Regions from separate parts of the Homo sapiens genome. Here region 2 is linked to region 1. Evidence: promoter capture Hi-C in human tissues and cell types (Jung and others, 2019). All regions are on one chromosome and are shown on one strand. Each heading gives the region's core, a stretch centred on a gene start or on the middle of the fragment in contact. The rest is flanking DNA. Distances are from core to core; before and after follow the strand shown. Region 1 holds the start of OTUD7B (OTU deubiquitinase 7B). Region 2 overlaps OTUD7B (OTU deubiquitinase 7B).

Evidence for each region. The method cuts DNA at HindIII sites, captures the fragments that hold promoters and counts their contacts. A contact is called where the count stands out against the background at its distance.
Region 2: a fragment that was not itself captured here is called in contact with the fragment with the promoter of OTUD7B in region 1 in 2 of the 25 tissues and cell types used here (IMR-90 fibroblasts and liver).

Annotation. Positions count from the first base shown.
Region 1 is chr1:150,009,132-150,012,386 of GRCh38, reverse strand. OTUD7B (OTU deubiquitinase 7B) reads left to right here and starts at 1,661. Exons shown (of 12, transcript NM_020205.4): 1 at 1,661-1,939. RefSeq lists silencers at 1,500-1,549, 1,810-2,099 and enhancers at 2,620-2,669, 2,034-2,916. The HindIII fragment of the contact is 20,587 bases long and covers 1-3,154 here.
Region 2 is chr1:149,974,744-149,977,998 of GRCh38, reverse strand. It overlaps OTUD7B (OTU deubiquitinase 7B), which reads left to right. Exons shown (of 12, transcript NM_020205.4): 2 at 423-573. The coding sequence starts at 489. Among named protein-coding and RNA genes, the nearest start is that of OTUD7B, 34 kb to the left of the region's middle. The HindIII fragment of the contact is 6,801 bases long and covers 1-3,255 here.

The sequences.
Region 1 (3,255 bases), core at 412-2,911:
GTTTGTGTAGAGTTACTAGAATTTCAGTCTTTTCATTCTAAAGTATTTTCATCCCTCTCACCTTTCTAGAACGACACCCTTTTCAGCTCCTTTCCAACGGCTGTAGCCAACTGATTCTACCCCAGAGTCCCAAGCGTCCACCCCCGTACCCTTCCAGTTCAGTTCAGTTAGAGTTCAGTTAGAGTCAATTTAGGTGACCAAATCTCATCCTGCTCTCCTCCTTAAATTTACCACTAAACGGTAGCTAAAATTTGTGGTCCCTTATACGCTTGAAGCCCACGCCAAATGACTTTACTTGTCAACCTCTATTGTATGTCTTGGATATGCCCCCATGCAAGGCACTCTGACTTGTTTGGCCTTAGCATGTGTGGACAGCCTTGGGCCCAGCCCTAAATTTTCGATTGTAAACCCAGGTGTATCCCTAAGAGATATAGCTGTCTAGGAAGTTTCCCTGTTTCAGGTGTCAGTTTCCTATTCTGAGCTAGACAATTCTAAAATGCCTATGCCCCACGCCTCCCCTTTAGAAACTGAGGAAGAAGTGAGGGGAAAGAAAAGTTGACTAGAGTATTTGTTTTTACATAGGCATAATGGGCACAATTAGGCAATACATTATTTTGAATATGCAGACCAGGTGCTATAATGTTAGGAATCTGAATTAAAATTTCAAATGTCTTTTGTTAGAGTATAGCCGGGGTTGGCATCGTTTTGTGTTTGTCATAAAGAGGTATTTACTAAATGGCCTTTCTTTCTTGAAACAGTCCACACAGGCCTAATACTTATTCATTCATTCAACAAATATGGAAGGTCTACTATGTGACAAGGATGGCTTATTATGTTCTCATAGCCATAGCTCATTGTCACTCAGGTAGGACACATACAAGTTCTGCTACATATAATATAGTTTTATGTATTTTACTAAATTGTAAAACCTTTGATGTCTGGGATTATGTCTTGTTAATTTTTGTATCCCCCTGTATCACTGAGAGCAGTGATACACATCACAGGGATACAATACATATTTGAATTATGCCATAATGTTTTAAAAGACATAACAAACGCACTAGAAGACATAACAAACGCACTATGTAAGTTTTTTTTACTGTTAGCAGTCTAAAGCAGATGTATCAACAGGGTATCACTGTTATGCAAGTAAATAAATATTAAGTGTTTACAGAGAAGGATATGTTCACTTCAAGAGTGAAGGAACAAGAGAAATATATAATTGGGTGGAGACTGGTGTGGAAGAAGCTAATCTTCCTCCGGTCACTCCAGAATGATTGTGTAGAGTTACTAGAATGTCAGTCTTTTCATTCTGAAGTATTTTCATCTCTCTCACCTTTCTACAACTACTCCACCCCTTTCAGCTCCTTCCCAACGGCTGTAGCCAACTGATTCTACCCCAGAGTCCTAAGAGTCCACCCTGTACTCCTCCAACTCCTGTTCAAGAATGCTCCAGACCAGGAGCTTTAGGGACTCGGGTCGGGAAAACACGGGGTCACGCGCGGGGCAAGCGCCAAACTGGCCGCAGCCTGGGGAGCGGCGCTAAAGGCGGGGCTGCGACGGGGCGGAGCGGGAGGAGGCCCGGGGGCGGCCTGGGTGTCACCACCAACCCGCTCCGGCCGGAAACTGGCGCCTGTTTCCGGCCGGACAGCAGAAAGCCACCGATCCTGAACCAGCCGCCGGAGCCGGAGTGGCGACCGGGTGCGGAGTGGGCAAAAAGCCACTGGGGGAGGCCAGTCCCGATCAGTCCTTTCTGGCTCCAGCTCCAGATCCCGTGCGGAGCAACAGCTGCGGTCGCAGTCTCCACCACCGCCTCCACCTCCATCGCCGTCGGGGGAGGGGCCGGCCGGACCCCGGGGTCACTGCCGAGGAATGAAGAGAGGCGGCCGGGCCCCGCGCTCCGCCCCGGCCTAGGGCCTTGCCCCGGGAGCCCGCGAGGGTAACGGAGCCCCCCGTCCTGACACCGTCCCCCGTCTGCTCCCGCCCCTCCCGGCTTCTCAGACTCGCAAACTCTGCTCCTCAGATCGCCACTGTCCCCTTTCTCCTTTCTGAATCTGTTTCACCCGAAGCCATCTCCCCTCGGCACTCCTTTCTCGCCCTGACTGCTCCTTGCTTCGTCCCGATCTTTCCTCCTCCCTTTCACCTGCGTCCTGCGTTCCTACCCCGCGCTCTCCAGCTCCCGGCCTCCCTTCCTGAGCTGTGCTGGCCAGTTTGGACGGTCCCCCCTTGTCAGCTAGACTTTCGGGAGGGATGGTGGAGTTTTAAGGTGATTAAGATGCAGTGTATTATCCCCACAGTAGGATAAAGTTCATTTAAAATCTCAATATAATACTAAAATGAAAAGCAAATAAGCTTATTCTTCCTATTGATAGCCAAACTAAGGTGCATACAGTAATGGAGGAAAGGCGAGAAAAAGGTGTGTGTGTGTGTTTGTGTGTGTGTGTGAGAGAGGGAGAGAGACGGAGGTTGACGGATTCTAGGGCAGTCTTAAGAACTTTAGAAAAAAGAAAAGTTGCCATGAGCCGATGGAAACTTTAGAAGCTGATGATGAGTAAGCCGGGGGCTGCGTGATCTCACTCTTCTCATAATTACTAGGTTAACGGTGTGGCTCCGGTCGGGATGGAATGGGATTTGTTTACTGGGCCGGCGTATTTTTAGCTTGTCGGCTCACAAGGACCAGCGCTCAGAGTCTCTTTCTCCCCGCTCGTGGTAGTCTTTCTTGTCTAACCTAGGTGGCTTCTCTGGGCACAATAAAGATGTAAAAATTTGAAATTAGAAACTGACTGGTGGAATTTTATGGAAGAAGTTCCCCACAAACTTTTCAGGCAGCTTTTCACGAATGCAAAGCCTAGAATTAGCAGGACGTTGACTTTTATTTTCCTTATCTTTTTATACGTACTACGTAACGCTTTGCTTAGAAATTCACATGCTGCTAATTTTTCAGTCTTTGGCCTCTAGTACTGTATATTTAGGAGATTTTTGAGGAGGCTGGATCCCTTTGTCTTTCAGAATCTATTTCAAAGGTGGAAAAGGACAGAGTAGAGAAAGAGGTGGCGGTAAGACTGGCTCCAAAGAGTTGCTAACCCCTAAATATTTAAAAAAGTTTCTATGCTATGTAACTTCTGAAAACATGTAGAAAATTTTCTTCCTACTAAATGAGATTGCATTCCTGATGGGGAGAAGACTTCAGGGACGGAAGCTGGGTGGCTAGGGAGAATCAGAGGTAGTTAAATATTTGCTGTGTATAACTTACAA
Region 2 (3,255 bases), core at 335-2,834, 34 kb after region 1:
TGGCTAGACAGCAACTAATTAAAATAATTTGAGAGTATTCAAGTGCCAGTAAGGAAATACACAAAGGTGCCATGTTAGAGACTATTGCAGGTGGGGAGTTCTTTAGGGTGGTAGCCTGTTGCTTCCTTCTTTAGTTTGGGTAAGCAAACTCATGGTAGAAAAGCAGTACTCAGGAAAAGTACAGGAAAAGCATTTTTCAGAGTGGTATTACAGGTTCCTGGTTAATGTAGATGTTGAGATGTTAATGAAGAGTTAGGAAATAAAATGTTACTCTTCATAATTTTAAAGTGCTGTATTTTAAAATTCAACTGAAATGAATGAGCTAGGATAGTTTCCCCATTTGGTTAGGAAGCTGCTGACATGGGACTGTGATTATCCTGTTCCAGTGTAATTTGAGCCTTATGTATTTATTTATTCCTCAGGTGGAGGCCTGAATTTTGATCTATGTTCTACCTACATCCAGCTGGCTGAAAGTACTTGAGGATCACATGACCCTGGACATGGATGCTGTTCTGTCAGATTTTGTCCGTTCCACAGGAGCAGAGCCAGGGCTAGCGCGAGATCTCCTAGAAGGTGAGGAGTTGTAGGGGAGAATGAGAAAAGAGAAAGTAAAATGTGGTATTTATCATTAGGATGATTTGGACCATTTAAGGTGATCAGGAAGATACTTTGTGTAGGTTAGGCCCTATAGTTAATTCTAATGATATACTTTGTGTATAACCCGTCATAATTAGAAATTTTAAAATCCCTTTTTCACCTTGAACTTACTGGGGTAGTTTTCTCCATTGTCAGTTTATGCTCAGGCAATGCAAGTGAAATTTTATATTAGTCCATTACAAACATAATTTTATTTTATTTTATTTTATTTATTTATTTTTGAGACAGAGTCTCGCTCTGTTGCCCAGGCTGGAGAGCAGTGGCATGATCTTGGCTCACTGCAGTCTCTGCCTCCCAGGTCCAGTCAATTCTCCTGCCTCAGACTCCTGAGTAGCTGGGATTACAGGTGCCTGCCACCACACCTGGCTAATTTTTGTATTTTTTAGTAGAGATTAAGTTTCACCTGTTGGCCAGGCTGGTCTTGAACTCCTTACCTCAGGTAATCTGCCTGCCTCGGCCTCCCAAAGTGCTGGGATTACAGGCATGAGCCACTGTGCCCGGCCTAAAAGCATAATTTTAGATCTGTAAGACTTCCTCTTTATATAGAAGTGACTTTAGGGTTTTCATGATGGGATCATCCATGGTTTTGTTCTTTCCTTACATAACATACATTATGGGTAATTCTATGTTGAGTGAATCAATTTAATGTTTTCATTTTGCTGCTTTTGTTTACTTATATCTTTATACACATAAGTTTGAATGTTCTAGTATTTTTTTTTTTTTTTTTTTGTAGACGGAGTTTTGCTGTTGTTGCCCAGGCTAGAGTGCAATGGTGCGATCTCGGGTCACTGCAACCTCCTCCTCCCGGGTTCATGCAATTCTCCTGCCTCAGCCTCCGGAGTAGCTGGGATTACAGGCATGCACCACCACACTCAGCTAATTTTGTATTTTTAGTAGAGATGGGGTTTCTCCATTTTGGTCAGGCTGGTCTCGAACTCCCGACCTCAGGTGATCCGCCTGCCTCGGCCTCTCCCAAAGTGCTGGGATTTCAGGCATGAGCCACCATGCCTGGCTGAATGTTCTAGATTTTAAGGTCCTGAAGGGTTAGAATCATGTCCCTAGGATTCTGTTTAGAGTCACAAATAATAGATGAAAATATGTAATGACACAAACAGGCAGGCCTATGGGGAAGGGGCAAGTTCTTAGCATACATAGGTAATATTTTAAATTGCCAGCCCTTAGCAAGGTGTGACAATTAGACATTTGCTTGGCTACCCGTGAGGAGAGCATGAGTTTGGAAACAGAAGATCAGGGTTTAAATTCCAGTTTAGTAATTTAGTACAACTTTGTCCTTAATTTGCATTTCTTTTTTTTTCTTTTTGAGACAGAGTCTCACTCTGTCGCCCAGGCTGGAGTGCAGTGGCGCGATGTTGGCTCACCACAACCTCCGCCTCCCAGATTCAAGCGTTTCTCCTGCCTCAGCCTCCCCAGTAGCTGGGACTACAGACGCGCGCCACCATGCCCGGCTAATTTGTGTATTTTTAGTAGAGATGGGGTTTCACAATGCTGGCCAGGCTGGTTTCAAACTCCTGACTCGTGATCTACCCACCTCAGCCTCCCAAAGTGCTGGCAGGCATGAGCCACCCTGCCCAGCCTAATTTGCATTTTTAGTTTCTTCTCCTACTACTTTTCCCTATACTTCCTATGCAGCCAGGCCTGACTTGTCACCTCTTGGTGATCATGTTAGGTTACTTCCTCAGTCTGGAGCATTTCTTTCCTCTATTCTCCTCATCCTTCAAGATTCAGCTCAAATGTTTCCTCTTTCATAAAATCCTTAACCTTTCTGCATTCCTCTTATAACATGTGTTGAACACTTATGAGTGTTCAATATGTGCAACGTACTTGAGATATGTTATTTTATTCTCACAACCACCATACAATAAAGTTTTATTATCCTGGAGTTAATAATTTTAAAACCTGAGGCTCAGTGAGGTTTAAGTAGGATTTGAATCTAGGCAATCTGGTTTCAGAGTATGGCTGTAAGCAATTATGTTACAAATTATTGCTAGCATGCTCACATGTGTGCACACACACATACACTCATGCTGTGAAAGAAACATTGAGGGTGCTGTGAGAGTGAAGAAAGAACCCTAACTTAGATCTAGAGTGCAGGAAGGCCTTTTCCGAGGAGTGATTTTTAAGCTGAGCCCTGAAGGACAAGTAGGAGCAGCAAGACAAAGGGATGTAGAAGAGAGTGTTTATGCAGAATAAACAGTTTATGCAAGGGCCCTAAGGTGCAAGAGAGTTTGGCACATTGGAGAAACTATTAATAATGAGGTAGTAAGAATGGTGCAAAAGTGGTAGGAAGCTGGTGAGATAGGCAGGAAGCAGAAAATAGGGGCTCTAGCCAGGTGTGGTGGCATTCACTGTAATCCCAGCTACCTGGGAGGCTGAGGTGGGACGGTCGCTTAATTAAGCCCAGGAGTTTGAGACCAGCCTGGGCAACATAGCAAGACCTCATCTCTTAAAAAAAAAAGAAAGAAAAAGAAAGAGGCTGGGTGCAGTGGCTTATGCCTGTAATCCTAACACTTTGAGAGGCTGAGGCAGGCGGATCACCTGAGTTCAGGAGTTTGAGATCAGCCTGGCCAACATGGTGAA